Regions from separate parts of the Homo sapiens genome. Here all the other regions are linked to region 1. Evidence: promoter capture Hi-C in 16 types of primary human blood cells and fetal thymus (Javierre and others, 2016). All regions are on one chromosome and are shown on one strand. Each heading gives the region's core, a stretch centred on a gene start or on the middle of the fragment in contact. The rest is flanking DNA. Distances are from core to core; before and after follow the strand shown. Region 1 holds the start of GUCY1A1 (guanylate cyclase 1 soluble subunit alpha 1). Region 2 overlaps LOC105377505 (a long non-coding RNA gene). Region 3 holds the start of LOC105377504 (a long non-coding RNA gene).

Region 1 (4,365 bases), core at 564-3,063:
AAAAGCAACAGACCACTTCTACACTCTGAACCAAGATAAAAAAAAATTATATCAAGTGCTTCTATGCTTACCCATATGTAACAGGAAAGTTTGACGTTTGTACAAAGACAGTTCTAGTAAGTGGTAGAGATGTATGAAATCAAATCAATTCATTAAATAGGCATTTAGTGAAATTACCATAGGAGAACTGATCCTAAAACATCACTATTGATATGTTATAAATGAAGTTCAAATGAAAGAAAAAAAAATCTGTCCTATTTAAAACTCAGCACTGTTTCCATAGGTTCCAAATCAAGATGCCTTCAACCAGTCATCGTTAAGTGAGCCATACAATCTTCTGGCTTACTTCAGAAGATGTAAACTGTTTATCGAGTGCAAAATGAAAGAATAACCATGTGAAAATCAGTGAGCAGAGAAAGACGCACGAAATCCATAGCCTGAAATCACATGACCACATTGCAACGCAGCCCCTCACACCATTGTCACTGTCAGGCAGCTCAGGCGACAGGGTGCAGACAGGCGCGGAGACCGCGGTGGCCCCCTGCTCACGCTTTCTCCAAGAGCCGCAGTCCTAACGAAAACAGAAATGGGACTGCTAAGCAGTAAATCATTTGTCTCTCTCGCACACACGCGCACACCTCGTGGAGCCGCTGGGCAGTTAGCCGGCTGCCTTCTCTGGGCAGCCCAGCGATCGCAGCTTTTGCTGTGGAGGAGGACGCGCCTCTTACCCACGCCGCAGCCGGCCGGGTGAAGTTGCCCTGAAGCCCGCCACCGCCTCCAGCCCTGCTGCCTCCGGGGTCCAGGCATCCCCCAGCTGCGCCCGCTCGCTTGCCTGCCGGCGCGCCGGAGGCCGCAGCGCTGCACGCGGCTGATGGGCTCTGGGGCCCAGGCGCCCTGGCCGTGGGAGACCAGCGGCCCCGGCGCGCCCCGCGCGTTCTCACGGCCCGGCCCCGCGAGCTCAGCAGCCGGCGCGGCGCTGCTCGGCGCCCACCCCCGTCTGTGCTCCTCCCTCGGGCGCCGCGGGTCCCCCGGGCCCTGGGCCGGCCCCTCGGGCGTCCTCTCCTTTCCTCTCGCTCCTCCCCAGCGTGGGAACCCGATGCTGGCTTCCCAGGGCTGGGCAACTGGGAGCGTACCGAAGGTTTCTCAGGAGAGGAAGGAGACCCAGCCCAAGCGGGGGTCCCGGAAGAGGGACCGCCTGTCTGAAGAACCCCGACCCGCGTGGGGATGCAGCGACCACTTACTTGGTGGCTTCGCACACCTCGGGGCTGTGCTTCCGGATCTCTAGCAGCTCCAGGGCGCGCCTCGCAAATCCGCACTGCGAATGGAGAAAGAGAGCAGGCGTCAGGGGTGGCAGGCAGTGAGCGGGAGAGGGGACCCTGCAGTGGCACCTGTCGGTCCCCGCGCGAGTGCACCCTGGGCACTCGCGGCAGCGGCACTTACGCTTGGGTCGCTCATGTCTACCTGTTCAACAGGCTAGGCGGGACGCGGCGTGCCTCGGAAACTGTATCGCCCGCGTGGCTCCCAGACAGTCCTCCTTGCCTTTGTCTCTCTGTGTCTGTGTCTCCCTCTTTGATCACCCCAAAGGAACCCTTGCAGTTCCTTTCCATAAGGCATTCGATTTTTTCAGACCTCTGCCCGCCTCCTCCCCTTCTCCGCACCGAAAGACTGAAAAAGAAAGTAGCAGCCAAAACGCACCATGGTGAGATCACGCCCGGCTGGGGTCTCTAAGCTCCTCCAGGCGCTCCCTCCCCCACAGGTGTCCTCCGCCTGGGTCTGTTCCAGGCTGCTCGCTGCTCTAGCGCAGGAAAAGTGTAGGAAAACTCTGCACTGAAACCTGCTTCTGGAAAACTGACTCTGAGCTGAGTCCCACCCACTAGGCTCAGACTAGGGCAGGGGAACTGAGTCCTGGTCTCTGCAGCCGCCCAATCGCCATAACAGAAATCACTGTGTGGAGACAGAGACCTAGGGGCAGGGGACAAAAAAAAAAAAAGAGAGAGAGAGAGAGAAAGAAAAAAATTGGAGGGGACTCCAGGAAAATTTGGCACACTTAAAAAGAAAAACAAAAACATGTCTTCTCCACTATGCACTGGTGTGGAAAAACTGTAGTTTTCCACAGTTAAAAACTCCAACATTTCTGCTGGGGAAGTTGACATCTGCGCTGATGACTCTCTTGTCCTGGTTTTCAGATTTGAAGCCAATCTACTCATTTGCAGATGCAGTTTTATGGTTACAGAGATTTTACATCTTTTCAGTAAGGTCTGGCTTCTGCCTGGTTCAGTGCATTTAGTTATATTTGTTACCGTTGTGTGTGTTGTGATATTATGCTTTTAGTCACCTTTCTGACTTAAAAAAATCCCATCATGCTGTTCCATTGTGAATTAACAATTAATCATGATCTTTATGTGATCCATTTTCAATTCAGTTCAATTCATGGTTATCTTCCTCTTTTATATCTCCCCCAAGTACACCATCTAATCTGGTCCCATTTGTAAGCTCATCACATTTGCAAACTTTCTCCCAGTCTTGCCTACTGTGCTTGCCTCATAGTGAACATTAATCAGAATCAGGAAAAAAATACATTTAAATAAGTCAGGAACAGTTAAGAAAGTCAGCAATATAAGCACAGGTAGTCACAGAAACTTTTGCCTTCCTGCCATCTCAGAAACTTCTCTTCCTCTACATTTAACCCATGATACTCTCTTAGATCAGTAGGACATTTGTACTAAGAATATTTAGAACTTCAGATGTAGAAGGAAACTTAAAAAATACACAGTAATTCATTAGTAAAAAGAAGAGGGAAGTCATACTATTTTTAAGTAAATGCTATGAACATTCAGAAGAAAATGAGATATTGTCTGACAGGGTTCATAAAGGAACAGTACTAGAGATAGGACTTGAAGGATTGGTTATGTTTGGAAAAAGATAAAATAGAGGACTTTTTTGTTGTTTTTGCTTTTCTCTGACAGAGGGAAACTTGTGAGCAAACATACAGAGGTTGGAAAGGCATGACACTGTTATTCAAGAAACAAGGAGTAATACCATCTGGTAGAAATAAAAAGTACATAAAGAAAAGTGTAGGAAGATACGGTGGAAAGATAGGCCGGGTTCAGATGCCTGATCCGCAGTTGTCACGTGTTGCAGGCTTGTATAAAGACTTTGTTGTTGCTGTTGTCCTCGTCTGTTGATACCATTACCAATATTCCTTTCATTCTGGAAAATGACTTGTTTAACCCATTAATTTCTACTTTTACCATTCTCAAGTTTTATGGCACACCAAACTCCTTGATTAGTATTGCATTTGACCCCAGTACATTCTGCCAGGAGCTACCGAGTTTTACTAAGAGTAGACTCTCAACTGGATAGTGTCTTGTCTTCTTCCTCCTCTATCCTTTCTGACTGTCAGACAATGGGTAAGAAGAGGAAGCAACCAATCTAAACATAAGGGTGGCTAGAACCACCAAAAGGTGACTGCAAAAGACATTCTGTAATCTGGATGTTTGATATGCTCTAAAAAAGTAACAAGAGTTCCTTGTTGTTAGGGAAATACTAATCTTCACAGCCTAATTTCCTAGTAATGAAAATGGTTCATAACGGGATTCACTAAAATGCCTGCTGAGTGGATAAATGAATACCTGAATATTTCATCATCTTCCAGGTCCAATCTTCTTTCTTATAGTTGACTTATGGGTTAAAACCTACTTTCCTCCACTTTATGGAGAATAAGAAAGTTGTCATGACAACTTAATAAAAATGTTAACAAGGAAAATTACTCAGTGTAAAGCAATCTCCTTAGCCATGTTGATGCTGGCAGAAAAGCTCAAGAAATTTTTATTTCCTCTCAAGATGCTTTGTTTTTCTTGTACCTACAACCCACAATTGACAACAGCATGAAAGCATTTAAATGTACATTACTTTCACACTTGCAAATGAAAGGACAATGGCAACTAGAGATAGTATCTAAATCCTTGCTACTCAGAGTATGGTTTCTATATTAGCAGTATCCCATAACCTACAATCTTGTTGGAAATACAGAAGTTCAGGCCCCTCTCTAAACCAACTGAATCAGACTATCCATTAAACAGAATCCTCAAGTGATTCCTATGCACATTAAAGTTTGAAAAGCACTGGTCTACTATCAAGGCATTAAGTATGATAAGCCTCAAAACACATCGTATGAATCTTTCTAAATTCAGGGATTTTTAGAACCTGCATCTTTATTTTTCTGGGTTACTATTGCCATGTCAGTTCAAATAAAGTAATGGGACTAATGGTTTCATCTCTACTGACTTTGTGGACCATAAAAAATCCATAAACCAAGGGGAATTAAGAACGAGATAGAGAACAGTAAAAGGGTAGAAATGAGAG
Region 2 (4,365 bases), core at 933-3,432, 160 kb after region 1:
TCCCTTCTTTCTTGGCTATCTTCCCTTTCTCTCCTTCTCATTCTACCTGTCCTTCCTTCATGCACCATTTCTCTCAGAGGTAATCAAGGACAATTTTCCTGACTTCTGTTTAAGCAGTCTGTGTAGAAAACTAAGGGAATTAGACCCACTTATCTCTAGAAAACCGGTTACATTCAGAGGTCCTGATGAAGATTCTAGATAGATGATAGATAGATAGATGATGTTGATAGATAGATAGATAGATAGATAGATAGATAGATAGATAGAATTCTTTGTATGATTCAATGTAACCATATTTTAAAATAGCAAACTAATCATTCCAATAATTTTCACACTCATTTTATAACTAAAACTGGAATGAAAAGTACTCAAGGCATACTATTTCTGCAAAGCAGTCTCTATCTTCACCAGCCTAGAATGCATCGTCATTGTCTTCATCAGCATGTAGAGAAGCTGATGGTTGTGTTTCCAGCTCTCAGCATCGTTTGGCTGCAGAGATCGGCTGCCCTGCTCATCACAAGGCCAGCTAGAAACATTCAATTACCAGCTGTGGGAGCACAGCTGAGACTGTTATCCTTCGCCCTGTCAGTTTGAGTATTGAAAACAACTGCTGAAGTCCATGATAAAGGAACAAAACTACTTTCAGAAAAGTTGACATCTGAAATACCAAATTCTCCTGGCAACAAGTTAGAGAAAACTTTCATTAATTAAAAAAAAAAGTAGGAACTGACAAATTAGTTTTTCAAGGAAACCAACATTTATATATACTTATAGATTACACAAATACTAGGCTGAGAATAAAAGCTTATACTTTTAGTACCAGCTCTCCACAGGAGAGCCTAAATACAGACAATTATAAAATATTTTTAAAAATACACAGAATCCATTCCTCTGTTTGAAGATATGCATATTTGAAGCAATAGGAAAGCTTGCAAGAAACAGTCTGTACAAAAAGACTTCCAGAAGCAGTACAAAAGAGGACTACTCAGAAATCACATTTCAGACTTGAAAGTAGCTTAAAACTATTTAGTTCAGTCTTCTGTTTTTTCAGCTATGGAACCTGTGAACGGGAAATAAATCTCGGGACCCCCAAATCTCTAAGCCAAAAGGAAAAGTCAAGCTGGAACTGCGTCAGGAAAACCTGCCTCCTATTTTATTCCTAAAAAAGATAGCTAAGAAAGCTACATGCCTGCCTGACAATTCGCCCACAAGGAATTTGCACACAAGGAATAGGGTAAAGACCTTGAGGAAATTTCAGGGTGAAATTCCAGTTCTGTTGAATTTCACCCTGGCAATGTAAACTGATAGCTCATCTTCACAGGTGCAGGGCAGAAAGTCATCCCTCCGCTCACCTGAGACAAATACATATCTGATTGCTTCCTCTACCTTATTGTTTACTTAAAAATGCAGATTCACTAAGCCAGACTAAGGCATAAATGACTATTCCTCTACCCTCCTCTCATATGTAAATTGTGTATTCAGTGAAAAGCTAATCAGAGACTCAAGAGAACGCAAAAGACTTGTCAAAAAGAATTGCCTTTTATCTTCCTATGACGGAACCAATGTACATCTTACATATATTGATTGATGTCTCATGTCTCTCTAAAATGTACAAAAGCAAGCTGAACCCAACCACCTTGGGTACATGTCATCAGGACCTCCTGAGGCTGTGTCACCGGCACATCCTTAACCTTGGCAAAATAAGCTTTCCAAACTGATTGAGACCTGTCTCAGATTTTTTGGGTTACAAACTAAAGAGATACTGTGAACAAAACAAGGACAGGAAATTCACGGGGGGAGAAACAGACTGAAAACTCTGATCTCTTAAGAATTTGTTCACAGTTCTTTCCATCTGAGAAACGTTCTATTCTATGAGTACTTCCTGAGGGCCTAACATATGGATGGCTGTGTGCTGAGTTTGATGGAGCATGCAAAGATGAATCTTCATGCAAACTGCTCACATCATGGGAGGAGCAATACCATATGAAGAGATTTGCTAACACCCAATATAAAGTAGTGTGTGCAACATAATTTCAACATAAGTTCTACTACATTCTTTGAGAACTGGCAAAGTTTAAAACGTGGCCAGCAAGTTTAAAAACATGACCTATGACCTGATAATGCTGCTGCTGTTATTGGTGCAGTTAAAACATAAAAAGTCAGTATTCTATGCTTTTATAAAGGCCATTTTTGACTATAGATTATTGAGCCTTTTTTATGTTCTAAAAATGGTTCCTGTTTTACTTTATGTATTGACCTTAAAATACACGAAAGGTCTAATTATGAGTCAATCCATAGAATAATTTTTATATTCCTCTGATATATTTCCATTGAAAAATTATTCTAGCAAAGCAATTATAAAAAAACTCTTAAAATGAGGTACTACTGCTTAAATTCAAGCACAGTGCAGTATAGTGTTTCTAACTAACAGTTAAATCAGTAATATGATATACTCTAAAGTCTTTAGGCTACAAAATATTAAATTAAAACAATATTTCATAATTAAATGAGAATCAATAAGAGAAAATATTTAACTACACATTTGCGTTTGAAATGAATCAATTCAGGTTGCATTTTGCATATTAGTTCTACTATAATTTGGTTTTCACATTGTTCATGAAAAGTCTCTTCTGGAAAATAAACTAGGGAAGAAAGCTTAAAAATTAACTTTATTAGTGAAAGTGAAGAAAATTAAATGTATGCCAAGAAGTTTAGAAATTATTTGGAGATGTCATTTGTGTTATTGTTCTCCTTTGCTATCTTAAAGAGATATCGATGGGGACAGGAAAGCTCTCTTTTTTTTTTTTTTTTTCCCACAATGTCAGTTCTTACCACAATAAAGCTCAGATTTGATTTTATGGAAATGTCAAAAAAAAAAAGGAAAATCATTTCTTCAATTATTTATCTTCTTATTATGAACATGTTCCTCTCTCTGTGTCTGCCAAGTCATCACAAATTATCACCATCAGTGTTCATGAAAGCTCAGGTCCTAGAAAATTCTCAGAGTTGTTTATTATAAAGCATTTGCCTAAAACATATCCTTTTCGCATGTGAGCCTTATAGATAAAAATGATCCTGAGTGGGCCGGGCACGGTGGCTCACGCCTGTAATCCCAGCACTTTGGGAGGCCGAGGCGGGCGGATCACGAGATCAGGAGATTGAGACCATCCTGGCTAACACGGTGAAACCCCGTCTCCACAAAAATACAGAAAATTAGCCGGGCATGGTGGTGTGCGCCTGTAGTCCCAGCTAATCAGGAGGCTGAGGCAGGAGAATGGCGTGAACCCGGGAGACGGAGCTTGCAGTGAGCCGAGATCGAGCTACTGCACTCCAGCCTGGGCAACAGAGCGAGACTCCAACTCAAAAAAACAAAACAAAACAAAACAAAAAAAGATCCTGAATTAAATAGACGGAGGACAACCTGTTTTGTGCCCCATTATATACTAAAATGCTACAAGCCATTCCAAAACCTTTACAGTATGCTACTAAAATCTAAAAACAATACAAGCAACAACAACAAAAAGAGTAAATGTTCTGAAGGAAAGAAAAAATAATACTAAAGGCAACTTAAAAAATAATACCTATAAAAAACCATTTTTATAAATCGTGTTACCTCATTTCCCTTCCACAATTATAACAGCATGGAAAAAACAACCAATTTCATTTTTTGCGGTAGGGTAGAAAATTGCAGTAAGCTTTCTGGTGACCATCTGTGATTTAATAGCCAAAACGTTTATTTTAAGACTCAGTTCTGTAGTTTCTGTGAAACTATTTAGGATTCTACAATCCAAATTGATGATACTAAAGTGCAAATATAAAGCAGATGCATCTAAATTATATTAGAAAAAGTTTAAAATGGTACTTGATATTTTCTAGTTTAAGTATGCGAATACTAATATGCACTAGGAATCAAATGTTGAGCAACAACTTAGATCATCTTTTCTTCTTTGCTTCCTGCTTTAGTCGGCTAGTGCTGCCATAACAAAGTACCACAAACTGGGTGGCTTCAACAACAGGAATTTATGGTCTCACAGTTGTGGTGGCTAGAAGCCTGAGATCAAGGTGTCAGAAGGTTTGGTTCCTTCTGTAGGAAAATTTGTTCCATGCCTTAGCCTCTGGTTGGTGATTTGCTGGCAATCTCTGGCATTTCTTGGCTTGTAAAAGCATCACTCCTCTCTTTGCCTTCATCTTTAGATGATGTTGAGCCTGTGTGAATTTCTAGCCAAATTTCCTTTCTTAAAAAGGACAACAGTCAGGAGCCCATTCTACTTCAGTATGACCTCATTCTCACCATAATTTACATGTGCAAAAACCTCATTTCCAAATAATGTCTCATTCTGAAGTTTTGGGGGTTAGGACGTCAAC
Region 3 (4,365 bases), core at 743-3,242, 140 kb after region 1:
GAAATTGATTTTTAGACCAGTTAACCTCTGGGGATATGGTTTCCTTACCTATAAAACTAAGTGATTGAGTTTAATGTCATTATAACTTATTCATCAATAAAATAAGCAGAAATAAATTCAAATATACTTGAAAGACAACAAAACATAGTCAATTATGGTAAGAAAAGAATTGTTCTGTTAATAGGTAATATAACTTGTAGGCTTAAATTAGGATCTTAAGTTAATCAGTTGGCTTCTATGAGATTCCGTTTGTTATCAAAATGAAAGAGTTGGACTAAATCAAGTGTTCCTTACCTGGGTTATGGTTTTTGGCCCAGAGGAACAAAAGAACCCTGATATATTATGAACATTTTGAGTGCATGTATACTTTCCCAGAGGAGGGTTTATAGCTTCCTTTTCAAATTCTCAAAGAGGTCCAAAGCTGGGAACACACTAGATGATCTCCAATGTCTCAGTTGCTCTGACTTCCTAAGGTTAGTATGACTTGCAACTCCACTTGGCTTCCGATTAAGGAAGAGACTGCCTTTTTCGCTGAATTTACAGTCCAAGTGATTATTTTAAAATTGAAATTATCTGTTGTCTATAAAAAATATTTCACTATACATAAGACAAATATCCTGGCTAACCAGGACATTCTATAAATCAATTGTCATGAAGTTCCTGAAATATTTTTGTTGTCTAAAAAGAAGACCCAACTTGATTACAAATTTAATTTACATGGAGACATAATGTCCATAAAAAGGAAAAAAGTTGTTTTCATATGTAATAGGGTTTGTCTTGATGAACAGATGGAAAGTAACCCAGAAGCAGGTGGGTTGTGTACACATTTGTTATGTAAGAAGAGGCAAAAGCTTTGACTTAGTAAGAAAGTCATCTTCAGTGAAGAGCGTGGGAGAACTTTTTCCATTGAAACAAAGGCATTATGATGAAATGCTAAAGCTGTCAAAATAAAAATTGCTTTAGCGACAATGTTAAGTTTTTGTCCTGGTGTCTGAAGAAGGGAAGAGTACAGAGATGGAGCAGATACAAAGCTTTCCTCATTCCCAGCAGATGGGAAACGTGTTGACACCTGGTGGAAAATGCTTCTGGCTTAGTCAGATTTATTCTTTCAAATTTCTATTCTCCTTGTGAATTGTCTCAAGTGACAAGATGCAGACCTTTGATATATAATAAACTCAACCACTGATTTTTAGTTCCTGTAATATAAAGATTTTTGTTCAGATATCCTGGGGCTAATCTGCTGTGGGTTACCTAGAAACTGTTCTAGTTCTTTAGACTCTTGAAGGGAAACATTACTTTACTTTTTTTTTCCTAGTTTGTTTTAATGTTTTTGACTTTGGAATTGTATGCATGTTAAAATATATAGCTGATATAGGAGAAAGAGAAGGAAGGGGAGGACATTCCGTTAGGCTGGATCCAAATGATCTGCATCATAATTGAGATAGAGATGTCTTGGTGTAAGTGGACCACATAAAACCAGACAAAACAACAGTCAATTGACTATCGATATGCATGCATATAGCCAGGCATGGTGGCTCACACCTGTAATCCCAGTCCTTTGGGAGGCCGAGGCAGGCAGATCACCTGAGGTCAGGAGTTTGAGACCAGACTGGTCAACATGGTGAAACCCTGCCTCTACTGAAAATACAAAAATTAGCTGAGCACAGTGGTGCAAGCCTGTAATCCCAGCTACTTGGGAGGCTGAGGCAGGAGAATCGCTTGAACCTGGGAGGCAAAGGTTGCAGTGAGCTGAGATCATGCCACTGCACTCCAGCCTGGGCGACAGATCGAGACTCAGTCTCAAAATAATAATAATAATAATAATAATAATAATAAAGATATGCATGCTATGAATGCAAATGGTTTCCTCAGAGATGAGGCTTAAAGGATTCCTAAGGTAATTTTGGAAGAAGATGCTAATGCTAGAAGGTACAGATGCAGAACAAGCAGGGCATTCATTCACTTTCTCTCTGTTCTATGCACAGGAATTCAAAAATACCAAGGCAAAATTACTGTCCCAAGAAATTAACTGTTTCATAGTTAAGAAAGGCAAAAAGAAGAATGGATATAAGATAGGAGATGGAGGATTTTCAGAATATGATGACTGAATCTAGATGTAGGTGGTAAAGAATGATAATCAGATTGTTATTTCTTAAACAAAGGGAAAACTAGTAGTAAAATTGTAAGTGGAAAGATCACAGGACTCTATCCTTGCCAACTGTTTAGATGACTATGGAAAGCAGTTTCCCTCTGAAATCTGGATTTCAAGCCCCCTGAGAGAACTTTGTTCCAGGACTTAAAGGGTACTAAAAGAAAAATTGAGTCTTGTCCTACCAGGTGAAATGTCCCAGTGAACTAGCAAGAAAATGAAATCGAGGAATCAGTGATTGGAGTTAGAGGGAAAACAAGCCTAGAAGATACTCTTTAACATATGTAAACCTGCTTAAGCTAAGTGAGTAACCAGACACTGTGTGTCTATAATTTATCTCTTGTATATAAATTGTATCCCACAATCCCTCCCTCTGAGATAAAAATAGTCATGCACACAAACTGACAAGACCTGTTCTGTATTTCAGTGAGCCCTGTGAAGGAGGGACACCTTCAAAGAAGAAAAAGTATAATGACTACCAGCGTATGGGCCCTAACAACACAGAGACAAATATAATCTTGTACATTTTAGCACTCAATAAATGTCATGGTAATGGAATAGGGAGGAGAGCTACAGATGTTCAATTTTTCCAAAGCAGAGATATTCAAGAGCTATACTGTGAGAACTCAGCCAGAATAAAAAGTAATTGTTTGGGAACTTGTTGGGGAACATTAATCAGAGACAACTGAGGCACAAGTCTGTAAAGCTCCCTAGAAAACACAGAAATTGAACTGGGATTTGTTTGCACAAGAGAGCAGGTTTTGAGGATATCACAAATTATCTTTAGAAAGACTTAAAGCTTTATGTTTCCCCTTTACCCTTCAACAATTCTTGGAAAACTGTCTCCTTTCAGAGGTAGAGGTGTTATTTATTCCTGGATTCTCAGTGGAAAATAAATGGTATTAGTAGGCATGGTGAAGAAAGAAGCATATGGCTTCAAGATTACTTGATTGCCACACTGTGATGTCAGTGATCTTGCCATAGTTTTTTGGTTTTGATAGCTAGGTTTATCCCATAGCTCCTCAAATCCATGCCTAGATTGTGACCATTCTTAACCAGGTCATGTAGCTAGCACATGGTAAAGAATTATTTTGTGTCATCTAGAATGTAAAATTTGAACTATTCTGTAGAGGTTTCCAGGAAACGTTTTAAGATAAATTTAAGAAAGAAGTCTCTAAGGAGTCTTAGAGTTTTATGTAGTTGACATGACCTGTCTAGTGAAATAGTGGACTCCATGTTATCAGAGTTATTCATGAAGAAGCCGGAATATCTACTTACCAGGAAGTGACAGAAATTTCTTGCATTTAGTAAGAAGGTTGTTAGAGGACACCTAAGGCTTTGTCAAATCTTGCTTCCTAATTGTGGGGCTACATGGTGGTGCTTAGAGTGGGATAAGTGGAAAGAGGCCTAGTGCTTACTTAAAAGAGCTGTGGTATAGACTGATTGCTCACACCAACAAAATAAACAAACCTACGCAATGTTTATAAAACTATGTAGTTCAGAATTCAAGGAAGTTGTCCAAATTTCAAGACCCAGACAGTTAAGCTCAGGAGCTTAACTTACAAAGCCAAGAAAGAATTTAAAAATCACGTCAAATCCAGAAACAGGAGGAAGAAAAAAAGCTGGTGTTATCATTTACAGACAAATTCTAACAGAGGAGCAGGCCATAAAAGCTTGGGAAAAAACATTTTAAAGTGTCCAGCTGCCTCTGGTTTATGTGAAGAAAGAAGATGAAAAATGAGAAGGCAGGATCGGTAACCACTTTACCTACAATGGTTAGAGAAGGCGAGAATTGGAATCTGAATGCTAAGAAGAGGCAGCTAAGAGAAGATCTGAAAATCAAACATTTCTAACAGAAGGCACAGTGAGTACAGAATCTGAATATTATGAACAAGCTTGGTGTGTTCAGCAGCAGAAAAGAAGGCCAGAATACCTGGAGTTCGGGGACTAAGAGGGAGGATGGAAGAACTTAAGGTTTAAGTGATAGGCAAGTGATACCCATCCAATAGTCCCATAGAATAGTTTTTTTTCTTTCGGATGAATATAGAAATTGACCCTTCTGCTCTTAAGCTTAAAACTTATATTTATTTTATCTGAATTCCTTCCTCAGGAAAGGGTTCCCAGGAATCTCAAGAAGTATCAAAGAACTGAGACTTACCAGATCACCACACCCAGATAATGAGTTGCCGACCCCTCATTCATCGTGACTGCTTCCT

What was found. Contacts are between HindIII fragments. The CHiCAGO score rates a contact against its expected background, and 5 or more counts as called.
Region 2: a fragment that was not itself captured here is called in contact with the fragment with the promoter of GUCY1A1 in region 1 in 1 of 17 cell types (fetal thymus); the score reaches 6.0 in fetal thymus.
Region 3: a contact is called between a fragment that was not itself captured here and the fragment with the promoter of GUCY1A1 in region 1, in 2 of 17 cell types (megakaryocytes and fetal thymus). The highest score is 6.2, in megakaryocytes.

What each region holds. Positions count from the first base shown.
Region 1 is chr4:155,664,296-155,668,660 of GRCh38, reverse strand. GUCY1A1 (guanylate cyclase 1 soluble subunit alpha 1) reads right to left here and starts at 1,813. Exons shown (of 10, transcript NM_001130682.3): 1 at 1,696-1,813; 2 at 1,242-1,315. The HindIII fragment of the contact is 4,774 bases long and covers 1-4,365 here.
Region 2 is chr4:155,503,119-155,507,483 of GRCh38, reverse strand. All of the region lies in intron 1 of LOC105377505 (a long non-coding RNA gene), which reads right to left. Among named protein-coding and RNA genes, the nearest start is that of MAP9, 130 kb to the right of the region's middle. The HindIII fragment of the contact is 950 bases long and covers 1,708-2,657 here.
Region 3 is chr4:155,521,700-155,526,064 of GRCh38, reverse strand. It overlaps LOC105377504 (a long non-coding RNA gene), which reads left to right and starts at 3,461. Exons shown (of 2, transcript XR_939376.3): 1 at 3,461-4,013; 2 at 4,260-4,365. The HindIII fragment of the contact is 1,917 bases long and covers 1,034-2,950 here.